Linked DNA regions of Homo sapiens: all the other regions are linked to region 1. Evidence: promoter capture Hi-C in human tissues and cell types (Jung and others, 2019). All regions are on one chromosome and are shown on one strand. Each heading gives the region's core, a stretch centred on a gene start or on the middle of the fragment in contact. The rest is flanking DNA. Distances are from core to core; before and after follow the strand shown.

The links. Contacts are between HindIII fragments. The study calls those that stand out against the background at their distance.
Region 2: a contact is called between a fragment that was not itself captured here and the fragment with the promoter of RHBDD3 in region 1, in 1 of the 25 tissues and cell types used here (dorsolateral prefrontal cortex).
Region 3: a fragment that was not itself captured here is called in contact with the fragment with the promoter of RHBDD3 in region 1 in 1 of the 25 tissues and cell types used here (spleen).
Region 4: a fragment that was not itself captured here is called in contact with the fragment with the promoter of RHBDD3 in region 1 in 1 of the 25 tissues and cell types used here (spleen).

Annotation. Positions count from the first base shown.
Region 1 is chr22:29,266,490-29,269,710 of GRCh38, forward strand. RHBDD3 (rhomboid domain containing 3) reads right to left here and starts at 1,492. Exons shown (of 7, transcript NM_012265.3): 1 at 1,259-1,492; 2 at 937-1,088. It overlaps EWSR1 (EWS RNA binding protein 1), which reads left to right and starts at 1,779. Exons shown (of 17, transcript NM_005243.4): 1 at 1,779-1,860. The coding sequence starts at 1,848. RefSeq lists enhancers at 1,371-2,242, 1,635-1,694, 1,805-1,864 and a silencer at 2,035-2,124. The HindIII fragment of the contact is 23,296 bases long and covers 1-3,221 here.
Region 2 is chr22:27,870,023-27,873,243 of GRCh38, forward strand. The region is part of intron 8 of PITPNB (phosphatidylinositol transfer protein beta); the gene reads right to left. Among named protein-coding and RNA genes, the nearest start is that of PITPNB, 48 kb to the right of the region's middle. The HindIII fragment of the contact is 6,796 bases long and covers 1-3,221 here.
Region 3 is chr22:27,896,110-27,899,330 of GRCh38, forward strand. PITPNB (phosphatidylinositol transfer protein beta) reads right to left here. Exons shown (of 12, transcript NM_012399.5): 4 at 1,692-1,783; 5 at 1,021-1,028; 6 at 443-517. Among named protein-coding and RNA genes, the nearest start is that of PITPNB, 22 kb to the right of the region's middle. The HindIII fragment of the contact is 4,356 bases long and covers 1-3,221 here.
Region 4 is chr22:30,333,665-30,336,885 of GRCh38, forward strand. SF3A1 (splicing factor 3a subunit 1) reads right to left here. Exons shown (of 16, transcript NM_005877.6): 14 at 1,988-2,089; 15 at 1,803-1,874; 16 at 1-1,031. The coding sequence ends at 930. Among named protein-coding and RNA genes, the nearest start is that of TBC1D10A, 8.3 kb to the left of the region's middle. The HindIII fragment of the contact is 5,203 bases long and covers 1-3,221 here.

The DNA.
Region 1 (3,221 bases), core at 242-2,741:
ATAGCAATCCGCACTAATCATGGCAGGCGTCTGTAGCCACCAACTGGCCCATCGAGAAGGCCTCAATATGGAGGTGGCTGCTCCAGCCTAGCTGGTCCCAGCTTTGGCCCTCAAACATGGCCTTTCCCTGCCCACCAAAGCAAGGCCTTCTCCCCCGTGCTGTTCTCTTGCATCCAGCCTGTCCTCCAGGGCCTGTAGGTCTTCACCCCTGGTCAGGCCTCTCGGTCCCAGGACTCCCACTGAGCTGATTCAGGGCAGGAAGCAGGATCCCAGAGAGACAAGAAGGCTGCCTAATTTGCTCCCCTGCCAAGCGCCTTCTCCACATCTACCAGTTTCCTGCAGGAAAAATGTGGAAAGCTCCTCTGCCTGCATTGTCCTTCCCTCCATTTTGCCAGCAGGCAAACTCCTATTTCACCCTTGGAAGCCCAGCTCAAATATCCCTTCCCCTCCTCTGGCCCCCTAACATCATGGATCTTATCCTTAGGAGCACAGCTTGGCCAGTCTGTCTCCCTAGGCAGGTGGTCTGAGCTCATGGCTCCTCTGATCCAACCCCACATTCCCCAGGGTATTCACAGCACACAGCCAGTGCTTTATATATGTTCACTGAAAAAAGGACACTAGCTTGGCTCCTGGTCCTGCCGAGGGATTTGAAGGTGAACCCTGCCCTTCGCGGACCCGGGCATCCACCTAGGGGGCTGGGGCTAGAGGTCCAGGAAGGTGGGCAGGGTCAGCCTTGCCTGGAGGCAGGGTTTGGGGCCAAGGCACCCACCGTAAACCTCCTCCTGCATCGACACCTCACAACCATTCCCCAGCTCTGGGCACCTTAGCAAGGGTGAAGGGCTTACCCGTGGACACTCGGAACTGGGACTTGAGCCCCCTGGACCTCACTTTCTTCAATCTATGAAACGGGGCAGTGCACCACCAGGCCCTGCCTACCTTACTGGGAAGCCGGGAGGGCAGAATGGAAAGACAAGGACGGAGATTCTTCCGGTGGCGGATAGAGTAGGGGGTCCCAGGATCTGTCTGGTTCGAACTCAGCTGGTGACTTTGCAGAGATACTCAATTTCCTTGGGCCTCAGTTTCCCCTTCTGTAGAAACAAGGATATCGGATGAGGGATGATTAAAGGGCCTGCTCCACCTCGACCGTTACCGGGGATAGGGTCTCGGGGCCAGGCACGGCGTTCGAGGCCTCCCACCCAGCCGACCGGCCTTGGGGACCCTTCCCCGCTGGCCCGGGCCACGCGTCCCGGGTACTCACTGCAGAGCGCGCCCGGCAACCCCGAAAGGCCGGTCGGGGACCCCGGCTGGGAGTCAGGACTCTAGCTCCCGGGCGCGACCCGAGAACCCTGAATCCATTCCGCGCACACCCGGCCGCGTGACCCCTGCCGACCGGCTGGCGCGCCACCCATTCCCCGCGGCCCGCGGATTAGTCAGCAGTTGTTCTAGTCCGGGTCCCTTCCCCCAGCCCTCCCGCCGATCTCCGTCTCCCTGCAGGGCCGACTCTTCAGCGACCGTCCCTAGAGCCAGCGGACGGAACCATTCCAAACAGCCTAGTCTCGTGCTGAGAGCCTCTCCGGTTTCACGCTGAGACCCGCTCACCCCCGCTCTGGCCCCTTAGATGCTATTTTGGCCCGAGTGTCACGTCGGGCGCTCTTTAGAGAGGACTGGGACAAGAGTTGCGGACGCGAAGAACGAGTAAGCGGTGGTTCATCCCTCCTGACCCCACCCCCGTGGCCTGGCCCGATGGTCGCGCCCGGGGTTGCGAGATTTGCGCCTGCGCAGTGCGGCGCCTAGAGGGAAAGCGAGAGGGAGACGGACGTTGAGAGAACGAGGAGGAAGGAGAGAAAATGGCGTCCACGGGTGAGTATGGTGGAACTGCGGTCGCGCCGGCGGTAGCCGGAACGCCCAAACTGGGGGTCGTTCGTCTCTGGGCTTGGCTGGGAAGACTGAGTGGAGTTGCCGAGAGGGGGTTGAGGCACCCGCCGCGGCCCGACGAGCTCGGGGATCCGCATTCCTCTCCCCTCCCCCAACCGGGCGGGCCGGTTCTGGAATCTTCCGGCGCCCGTGGCGCGCGGGGGGCTTGCTGCGGCGGGGGCGCGCGGGGCCCGCCTTGGCCTCCATTGTGTGGCGGTCCTCGCGCCCTGAGCTCCGGGCCTCCCGCCACGTGGGCGGGGCCTGCGGCCTTCGAGGCCCTGCGTGAAGGGGAGGATTTGGCCAGGCCTCAAGCCGGTCACTATGAAACCGCCGGGGGGCCCGCAGGCTGCTGTCCCTGTGAGGCCTCCCTCCCCGTTTTCAGGGTTTCCTGAGAAACCAGGGGAAAAAGCAAATAAAGATACCGTGGATTTGTGGGCCGAGGGGTGCCGGCCTATGAGCGGGAGCCCCGTCATCCTTAAGACCCAGTCGGCTGGGGCGTCTGGCGCTGCCGAGCTGCCCCCTCTGTGGCTTCCAGCCCCAAGCCGAACTTCTGCTCGCCTGGGCTTTAGACAGAATGTGCTTCCCTCCTCCAGGGCCCCCAGTTTGCCGCTTTCTTGGGCTTCTCCATTTTTATCGTTATTAATCCACGTCCTCCCCTCCCCCAAAACCAATTAAGTGGCTTCCCAGGGCCCTTTTTCTGCAAACGCCGAGGGACATCCGTTGTATAATAAGGCCAGCCTGGGTCGAGAGACGAGAAACGCTACCAGAAAGATATTTCTGGTCTCTCTGACCTAGGAGGAACAAAAGGCCGAGCCTTCATTTGAATTATGTTTCAGCAGTGGCCTCGCACGTTTATTCGCCTGCGTTAGGCCGGCAGGCCTGTTGATTTCGTAGGTCGACAGAGGAGAGGGGAAAAAAGGCCAGTAGAAGCAATCTTAAAGGCACTTGCAAGCAAGCCCCGGTTGGGAACTCCAAAATGGGAGTAGAGTGGTCCTTGATGGAAGGAGCGTTTAAGAGTGTCGCCTAGCCATCACCTGCAGTTCGCAATCTGTGGGTACACTAACCCGCGAAAATTGGCAGGGTGGAGCATTTTTGCCCCGGGGGTATTCTCAGGCCACCTGGTTCCAGGCCTTAGAGACAGTGGGAGAAGATGAGAAGGAAGACAGGAAAAGTTCTGGGCACTCCAGAGTTTTTGGAGTCCAGAATCCAGCAACTTAAGGACAGTTTAAGAATTCTCCCCATCTGTGGTCAATAAACAGGTAAGTGTTGGCTGTTCGTGCCGGGATACCAAAGAGTGGATACCAAAG
Region 2 (3,221 bases), core at 331-2,830, 1.4 Mb before region 1:
ATGCAACAGGGCATAAAAGGTACAGAACGGTGATCTAGGAGTCACTGGATTAAGAGTTAAAATCTGCTACATCTCCATACCTTACACACTGCTGTAACTACCACCGAATCAGGTGTTCCAGAAATGGCAGACATTCTGCTGTTTCTCCTACAACTATTACATGTGTTTCTCTGCCCAAGTTTCTCAACTATATAAAATAAAGCAGCTGAACTTACACCACAGGAAGGTTGTAAAGATTAAATGTAACCTTGTATAGTACCTGGTACCAAGGAAAAGTTTCTTTACCCCTAGTCAGTCTGGTGCAGACAGGAAGTAAATACTGCAATAATTCAGAGGGAAAATACCACCATCAGACAAGTAAGGAAAAGTTTCAAAGAAATCATAGGATTTGCATTTAGCTTTGAATAGACTTTGGAATCTGTACTGGTAAGGCAGGTTTCTGCTGAAGGGTATGTGTGGGATGGTTCACAGAGGCCTTTTGAGAGAGAGACTGTGGAACTACCAGGCAGCTCTTCTATAAGAACATTCTTCAACACTACCCTGGTTAAGTGGGTCCACAATAAGATTTCTTCTTCCTTTCAGCCATAATTATCATGTTTGTTCCCTATTTCTTCCTTGCATTTCAGAAGTATAAAAATTTCCAACTATTATCGTTCCCCAGTGCTACCCTCAGTGCCTCCACCAGGACAGTAATTGGCAAAGAGGGCCTGCTGAACATGTTTACAGAAGACACTGGTAAGATCAAGTCCAAAGGTTCCTATTTTCCTGTATGCCATATTATCAGCTATCTTCTTACGCTTTATTTCCCTCCACAGCAGCAAGTGGATGGCTTAATTATTATCAGTTATTCTTGACTGCACTAGTTATTTCTGAGATCACAGTAATTCACAGAAATTCAGTCAGGCAGTAGCTGAATTTATAAGAGTAGCTGGATACACCATCATCTGGATAAAATGAACAATCAACAGGCAAATGGGCAGAAACAACCAGCACCCTATCAGCCTAATAAGTTACTGTTTAACACAGGGGGGAAAATGGAAAAAAACTGCAGTTCTGCAATCTGCAGAAATACAAAATTCACATTATTTCTAAGAACTAAACCTATTCTAGAATTTCAATCATTAGTCAATAATAAAAGACAAAGCAATATCAGTTACAAATCAGGCCAGACATGGTATATATTCCAAGTTCCTAAAAAGTTAGAAATCAGTACAAGTCATAGTATCAAACTACTTTTGCTGCCTGTTATAAAATCAGGAGTTCCTATAGGAAGGATCTGAGCCCAAACATAAAGCCCACCACATAATGTAGCATTGTCTTTTAATGTTTATACTTGAAAAGCTAATAATTTCAAGAAAATACAATATTTAATTCACCTCTGGGTCTCAACCTCATGCCCCTTTACTCCCTGTAAAAGTATTGTCAGCTAGAGCTACTACTCACTGGAACAAGATGTACTTTTTTAGAAGTTACAGCACCAGTGGAGGTAGCCACCATCTGGGCTGCTCTCTGGCATGGTGTCCTTGTTTAGAAGACCAGTGTGAAATCTCAAAGGGCTTCTCCTCCAACTAAGATTGAGTTCTAAAGTCTGAAGCTAGAAATCTGGAAAAGGCTGGGGACACTAAATCCATTAAAGCAAATTTACATCAAGCAGGCTGAATTTGTTAATTTATAAGTGGTATATATCACTTTCTGGGTAATATAGATTGGGAATTTGTCCCTGCTCAAATCTCATGCTGAAATGTAATCCCCAATGTTGAAATGCAATCCCTAATGTTAGAGGTAAAGCCTCTAACAGGTGTTTGCATCATGACTGCAGATCCTTCATGAATAGCTTGGGCCATCCCCTTGGTGATAAGTGAGCTCTCACTCTGAGTTCACACGAGATCTGGCTGTATAAAAGTGCATGGCACACTTCCCCTGCCCCACTTCCACCATGTGAGACGCCTGCTTCTCCTTTGCCTACCATGACTGTAAGCTTTCTGAAGCCTCCCCAAAAGCAGATACCAGCACTATGCTTCCTATACAGTGTGCAGAACCGTGAGCCAATTAAGCCTGGTTTTTTTTTTTTTTTTTTTTTTTTTTTTTTGGGACGGAGTCTCACTCTGTCGCCCAGGTTGGAGTGCAATGGTGCAATCTTAGCTCACTGCAACCTCTACCTCCCGGGTTCAAGTGATTCTCCTGCCTCAGCCTCCTGAGTAGCTGGGATTACACGCAAGCACCATCGTGCCCAGCTAATTTTTGGATTTTTAGTAGAGATGGGGTTTCAACATGTTGCCCAGGCTGGTATTGAACTCCTGACCTCAAGTGATCCACCCACCTCAGCCTCCCAAAGTACTGGGATTACAGGCGTGAGCCACTGCACCTGGCCCAAGCCTCTTTATATATAATACCCATTCTCAGGTTCTTTGTAATAATGCAAGATTGGCCTAACATGCTAAGTATTAAAACTGGGAGAATTCTGAACTAAACTCTACCCAGAGAACAAATGTGAAAATAATATAGTTATGAATCATTTCTTATAAACCAAAGTCAAATTCATTTTTCCTTTTAGTTGATGCACAAGACAGTCCACAAAACAGTCTAACACCCAGGGAGAACCACTCAATGAGTTCTCTGTGGGGCTGTAACAGTAATCCTCTTATCTGCATGCAACTAGTACCTAGACATCACTTATCGATGACCTGTAACTGGCTTCAGCACAGACAGACTGGTTACCAAGTAAGACCCTGGGAGTGGAAAATCTGCTCTGGGCATGTTTAAGTTTTTATGCTCTTCTCTTGTCAAATTAGCTGTAGTAACTTGCCAATAACACATTAAGACTTCTTTAAGGATCTGTCATTTAGTTTAGTAGATGTCTTTAAAATGCATTATATTTCTATAGCAATTTAAATTATTACCTTGACATTACCTTACTTCCATGAATAAAGTAAGGGTGTGCACTTTATTTAAAAACAACTACTGGCTGGGCGCAGTGGCTCATGCCTGTAATCCCAACACTTTGGGAGGCCAGGGCGGGTGGATCACCTGAGGTCGGGAGTTCGAGACCAGCCTGACCAACATGGAGAAACCCCGTCTCCACTAAAAATACAAAATTAGCCAGGCATGGTGGCGCATGCCTGTAATCCCAGTTACCCGGGAGGCTGAGGCAGGACAATCACTTCAACCCAGGAGGCAGAGGCTGCAGTGAGCCCAGATTGCACCACTGCACCCCAGCCTGG
Region 3 (3,221 bases), core at 287-2,786, 1.4 Mb before region 1:
TTATCCCTCCTGCCTTTTGGCCATTTCTCTAACATGAGCCCATACCCTTGCAAAGCAGACAAGAGGTAAAAATTAAAGCAATCAATCCTGCTATGCAGAGCAGCTCTGACAAACACTCAGATATAAAAGCAATCTAATTAGCAAAACTAATGGCTAAAATTGGGCTGGGGATTATCTGTGAATTTTGTTTATTCATGCTCTCCTTGTCTCGGATAAAGAGAGTTGCTGATCAAAACAGCAACTTTACCAAAGTGTCAAGGCAAGCGGACTGATAGGGAAAGCCTATTTGGTTTCTGGCTGCTTGCCCGCCTCATCTCAATTTGACACAGCTTGGTGCGGTCAGATACACAGGTGACATTACTTTGATGATGACAAAGTGAACTACATATAGAATTCTCGTTTCCAGGGACTTTTGTACTAAAAGTGCAGAGTTGAAACTTACATTTTCTAATGTTCCCAAGTCTGGTTTGTGCCATGTTTCGATTTTAATGAAGAAATCATCTTTCATATATTCATTCTGCAGAAAACACAACAGGAAAATGACAGTGATCTTCTACCTGTTCCTTGGTGCCCACGTCTGAGGGAGCTTTTCCCAGTATAGGCATCCATGCTTTGACTCTACAAGGAGACTGATACTCAAGTGACAAAGAATCATTGGCTACCGATTTTTATAGACTTGTCAGGCAAACCAAATGCTACATGCTTTTAAATAATTTAAACAATTCTACTTGCCACGTGGCATATCGGGCTAATAAAGAAGCTGTGAGGTCTGATAAACAAATATGGCGTTTGAAGGGAGTAACAAAAGCAAAATAAAATCAATAGGGAGATTTTGAGACAAGGGTGGAAAGGGCCCATGAACACTGGGAACATGTGGTAGAGTGTGGCGGCTGGTTGGTGGGACACAGGAAGGAACCATGCAGCGAGGTGCAGTTAGCAAAGAATGGTTGAAAATAATTACTGTGTAAAACAAAGTTTAAAGATAAAGAAAGTATGAGACACAAAAATAGTTTTACTCACCGTTACAACTGAGGCATAATGGAGAGGTAGGTAATGAAAGGAGAAAAATTTCAGAATATTAATTGGAGTCAAAACAATCTGTCCCAATACTTAATGTCACAAAGACTAAACTATCTGAAAACAGAACATTTATTTAGTAATTTATGTCTGCAAAACAGTTTCCACACAAGTGACACTATACAGTACATTAGATTATGGAGTACAAATAAAATATGAACAATAATCTAATTTTAAAAATAATGCTAAAAAGAATAATAATGTCACAAAAGCAAAACATTATTTATAAGGTCAATTTAGCAAATGATAGGATGCTGTTTCAGAAGTCTGTCCTATTCCTCCTCTATTATGTAGCAATTTAAGTAAAATACTGTTGAAACACACCAAAACACCCTTCTGAGTGTAAACGACCTTTCTTTTGGCTTACCCCTGGAGCCAGCATAGTCAGCTAGGACCCCAAAGTGGCTGCCATGTGGGAATGAACTTATGCCTGTCACAAAGTTCTAGGGGGAGGAACCCAATGCAGCCCTTCCTCTGCCATCATTCTAGCAGTGACTATCCAAGAACCCAAGGAAGACCTTGCTCAGTGTAAACCTTCTCAAAGACACTGGTACTGGGAATCCCTCTCATTCTCAGGGTGGAGGGGTGCAATGGCTGCTGGGGGCCAAGCTTACTTGTTCTACAGTAGGGGTACGCATTCCAGGCTTTCTCATGAAACACCAAGGAGCCCTCGGGAGCAATCATCCTCACGAATGCAGGCACTTTGCTGGGAGAAGAGAGATACTGGATATATTTAACAGCACCATCAATTCTTTCTTGGTATCTATCCAACTGCTTGAAAGAGTATGGCAATCAAAGGTGACCAGGTTCTAAGTCTGATGAACTAGTTTATTTCAATCCTAAAGTAATCCAGTAGAAATGAACACATAATTTTTTACATTTTAAATAAAAATGATTAAGAATATTTAGCTGGGTATGGTGGCTCATGCCTGTAATCCTAGCATTTTGAGAGGCTGAGGCAGGAGGATCACTTGAGCCCAGGAGTTTGAGACTAGCCTGGACAACATGGTGAAACCCTGTCTCTACAAAAAATATAAAACTAGCCAGGCATGGTGGCACATGCCTGTAGCCCCAACTATTCAGGAGGCTCAGGTGGGAGGATCACTTGAACCTGGGAGATAGAGGTTGCAGCAAGCTGAGATCACACCACTGCACTCTAGCCTGGGCAAAAGAGCAAGACCTTGTCTCACAAGGAAAAAAAAAATTAACTGTATAAAAGGTTTTGTGTGTGTGTGTGTGGTTTTTTTTTTTTTAAATAGAAGCAATTATTTCTTAAGAACTTCTGATCTACTACCCCAATGTAAAACCTAAGAGTTAACAGCTATTCAATCTGCACATTAATACAATGTAGTTCTTAAGAGTTAGATGACATTATACTGTTTCTTAATGCAAAAAGCCCCAGAATAAGGAGATATCTCTGAATAAAAGTCTGAATACATTTTATAGAACAGACCTGAAGAAAAATGACAATGTAAAGGACCCATGCAGAAAATGAGAAATTAAAGCATATCCAAGTATAAAATTTTGTAGGTATGGGAGATGAATGTCACTTGCTGCCTTAAGTATATTCAGAGGAAGAGAAAGGTTCAATACATGATTAATATATGAGAAGCTTGTGCAAGCATATGATAATCAGAAACAATCCCAACATATAAAGGGGCAAAAGTCATCCACAGGCCCATTACAAATAGAAAATGTTATTTGTTAACAAACAAATGGGAAAATCAGTCTTAACAGTCTTCAAATAAATGCAAATGAAGTGACTGATATAGTGACTGGAGCCTACTGTAAAGAGTAGTTTTGCTTGCACAGACTTTTCACACAGATCGAATTCAAATCCCAACATCACCATTTGGAAGCTGTGTGACCTTAGGCCTGCTACTTGGCTTCTCTGAAATTCCTCATGTGTTGAATGGAATTCCTATTACCTGCTCTGCAGGGTTATTAAGAGAATTAAATCAAATACTGGAATGTGTTTAGCACATTGCACAGTACAATGAGCTCAAAAAATGGTAGTTACTGCTTTTTAATTATAAGTTGATACGGAGCTGGGTATTTTCATATGCCTTTCTTCATTTAAATCTTCCTTAATGTCTTCACATCCTTAAAAATGAAAGGAGCTAATTCTTTGTTCACTTATTTCT
Region 4 (3,221 bases), core at 330-2,829, 1.1 Mb after region 1:
ACTCACATGAGGATTACATGAGTTAAAATGGATAAAATGGATAAAAGTAGAGAGTAAATTATTTAAACTTTATCAAATCCTTGGTACATGACCTTAATACAATTAAGTATTTGTTAAATACATACATTTTAAAGAAACGTCATCATATCCACACACCTATGAGGCACCTGCCCAGGACCACAGAGCCAATCAATCAGGTGATGAGTGATTCCAGGCCAGCAGGAAACCACCGCCCACTGACACAGGGACTGCACCATCCATCCTTGGTTTGCATGGTGCCTGCCATGCTTCCTGTATTACTGTTAAATACATGGGGCAGGCCTTTGGAGGATCCCAATGTTTTAAAAGGGCAATACGAATATGATTCTAATACATAAAAAGTATGAGGGCAGCAAGAATTTAGTTACAAAACCCAAAAATCCTCAAAGAGAAGCCACATAGCACTGTGCAGTGTTACCACTGCCTCGAGTCTGGACAGGGCACAGGTGACCGAGACAAGTCTTATTTAACTGATTTCACAAGAAGGGTCCGAGTTTTATTAGACAACCCATGTCAAGGTACAAAATGATTAATGACAATATCAGCCATATTCTATTAGCCAAGTGCCACCTGTCACTATGAAACTATCCTGTAGGACATCCCTGGGCTCTCAGTTGCTAATGGGCTGCTGAAGAAATGAATGTCCTCAAATCGAGACCCTAACACAAAGAGATTCCAGAGAGTGGCTTAGAAAACCCAGCTACTCTTACCAATGTGGGGAAAGGGTCAGGGGAATGAACCTCTGCAGGACAATTTGAATTCCCAAACTGAGTAAGAGCGAAACAAATATGCAGGCAAGGCAAAGCCTCAGGGGGGCTCCTGGGTCTGGGGCAGGGGGTGGGAGACAGGAGAGGCAAAATGGCAGGGACTTGACAGCAGGTTCCTCTTGTCTACTTCTTCCTCCCGCCTCTCTCCTTGAGGGCCAGGTGGATGACTGCGCCATTGGCCATGTTGTAGTAAGCCAGTGAGTTGGAATCTTTGATGAAGATACCCTGGAAAACAGACAGCGTGCCTTAGCATGGGGCAACCCAGCCTTGGGGATACCGCTGCAACCTTACAACTGTGCACTTGGTCTGTTTGCGCTCTGGACTTAGCAAATACAGGAGCTTGTGAGAAGGTAGGGTGTTGGGGACTGGAGGCCTCTCATTCCTCCCACTGTTTCCTTTCTTCCCACCAATTACGCTCCTCCCCTTTGTCAACATTTGACTCAAAAGCTCAACTCCCCAAAAAGTTGGCCCCTCACCAACTCCATGGAGCTCTGACTCTGAAATCACAAGACCTTTAGGGATCACTTAGCCCAACAGCCTCAATGGATAGAGATAACTGAGGCCCAGAGCAGGGATTTGTTCAAGTTCAGAGAAGAAGAACATTAATGCCTCCATGTGACCTGGCATCAGGCGGGGCTAGACTATCACCTCCAAGTCAGGCTGCCTGAGGTCATACTGGCAGGGATGGCCCAACCACTGGATCAGGAACCCACCAGAGCATGCCTAAGTCTTGTCACTAAATCTCTATGCCCAGTCATTGAGGCAAAGAATCTTACAGATCCCACACAAGACTCTACTGTGACCCCACCAGAGCCTTGCATTGTTGGGCACACCTGCCCCAACACTCCCAGCCAGCATCATGACTTCTAGGATGGATTCAGATGGCCACACCCAGATATCACTCCACTCCCCTTTTAGCTTCCATGACAGATTTAGCTTCTGTGAAAGCAGAGGTGTCAGGACCCAAGGGACAGGTCTGTGGACAAACTGACTCACCTCATACTGTAGCTTCTGTTTCCCTGCAGGCATGCCTGTGGCTTCATGAATCTTCACCTTAATGACAGAGACCTGTGGGATCAAGCAGCGGTCATTCAACTCCTTGGTAAGGCCAGCTAGAGGAAGCTTTCCCCTGAATGCTTGGTTCCCATGCACCTGATGCCAGTTTCTGGCAGTACCCATACCTGGTCCGTGAGTGGGAGGGTGAAGACCAGCACCTGCCCATTCAGTTTCCATTCCGTCTTATCCTGCATGTTGGGCACCTGGACTTTGATGGACACTGGACCCTACAAAACAGGAGGTGGTCATTATGCCTAGGGAGCTCGGAGCCAATCAAGAACTATGCTCTGCTATCCCTAGGCCTGTCCAGACAATGTCACCTGTGCATCTGGGCTCCTGGATTCTGGCCTGATTCACCACTGATAACCCCTTGTGAGGTTGTACAAGTCACCCCCCTTTGCAAGATTAGGTTTCTTTTCTTTAAAACAATCTCTATCTTGTCTCTTGGTGAGTCTGGAGCTAAACTGAAGAACTTTAGTGAAAATACTCTGCACACCCCAAGGGAAAAGAATATGACCTGCAGGGTCGGAAGACCTGGATTCCCAACTCAGCTTCCCAGCTAACAAGGTTTGTCTGAGCCTCAATGTCATTATCCACCAGACAGGGTTCATGACTGTTTTGAGTATTGAGGGGAAGTGTCTGTAAAGTGCTTAGCTCTATCCTGGTACTTAAGCGTTTAAGAAATGGGAACTATTATTAAAAAACAAACAGAGCGGGTGCAGTGGCTCACACCTGTAATCCCAGCACTTTGGGAGGCCAGCGTGGTGGATCACTTACGGCCAGGAGTTCAAGACAAGCCTGGCCAACGTGGCGAAACCCCATCTCTACTAAAATACTAAAAATACAAAAATTAGCTGGGTGTGTGGTGCACACCTGTAATCCCAGCTACTCCGGAGGTTGAGGCATAACAATCACTTGAACCCGGGAGGCAGAGGTTGCAAAAACAAAACGAAACAATTTGGTCAAATACATTGGGGGAGCAGAGGCCGGGGCTGTTTCTGTCTCCTTACTGCAGCCTGACAGCTTCCCTAGTGATTAGCAGTGACAAGGTCCCCACCTCCCCTTATTCCAGGACCCCAACAGGATCCCACCCAACAGGCAGACCTCCTAAGGGCTAGAGCTGGGGAGGAAGGCCACAGTAAATTTTAAAACACCACACACAATTTCCTCCAGGTGTCTAGGGTCCCTCTCACACGTGAGTTGTGCTGCCCGTGCTGCTGGGTCTCCCTGTTGGCCTCTGTAAGTCTACACCAGAGGGACCACCACAGTCACCACCTCTGCCACCACTACCATCACCATCACCACCAATGCTCTCTGCTCCTCCAATTGTTGGCCCCACATTCACTGTGTGCTCAGAAG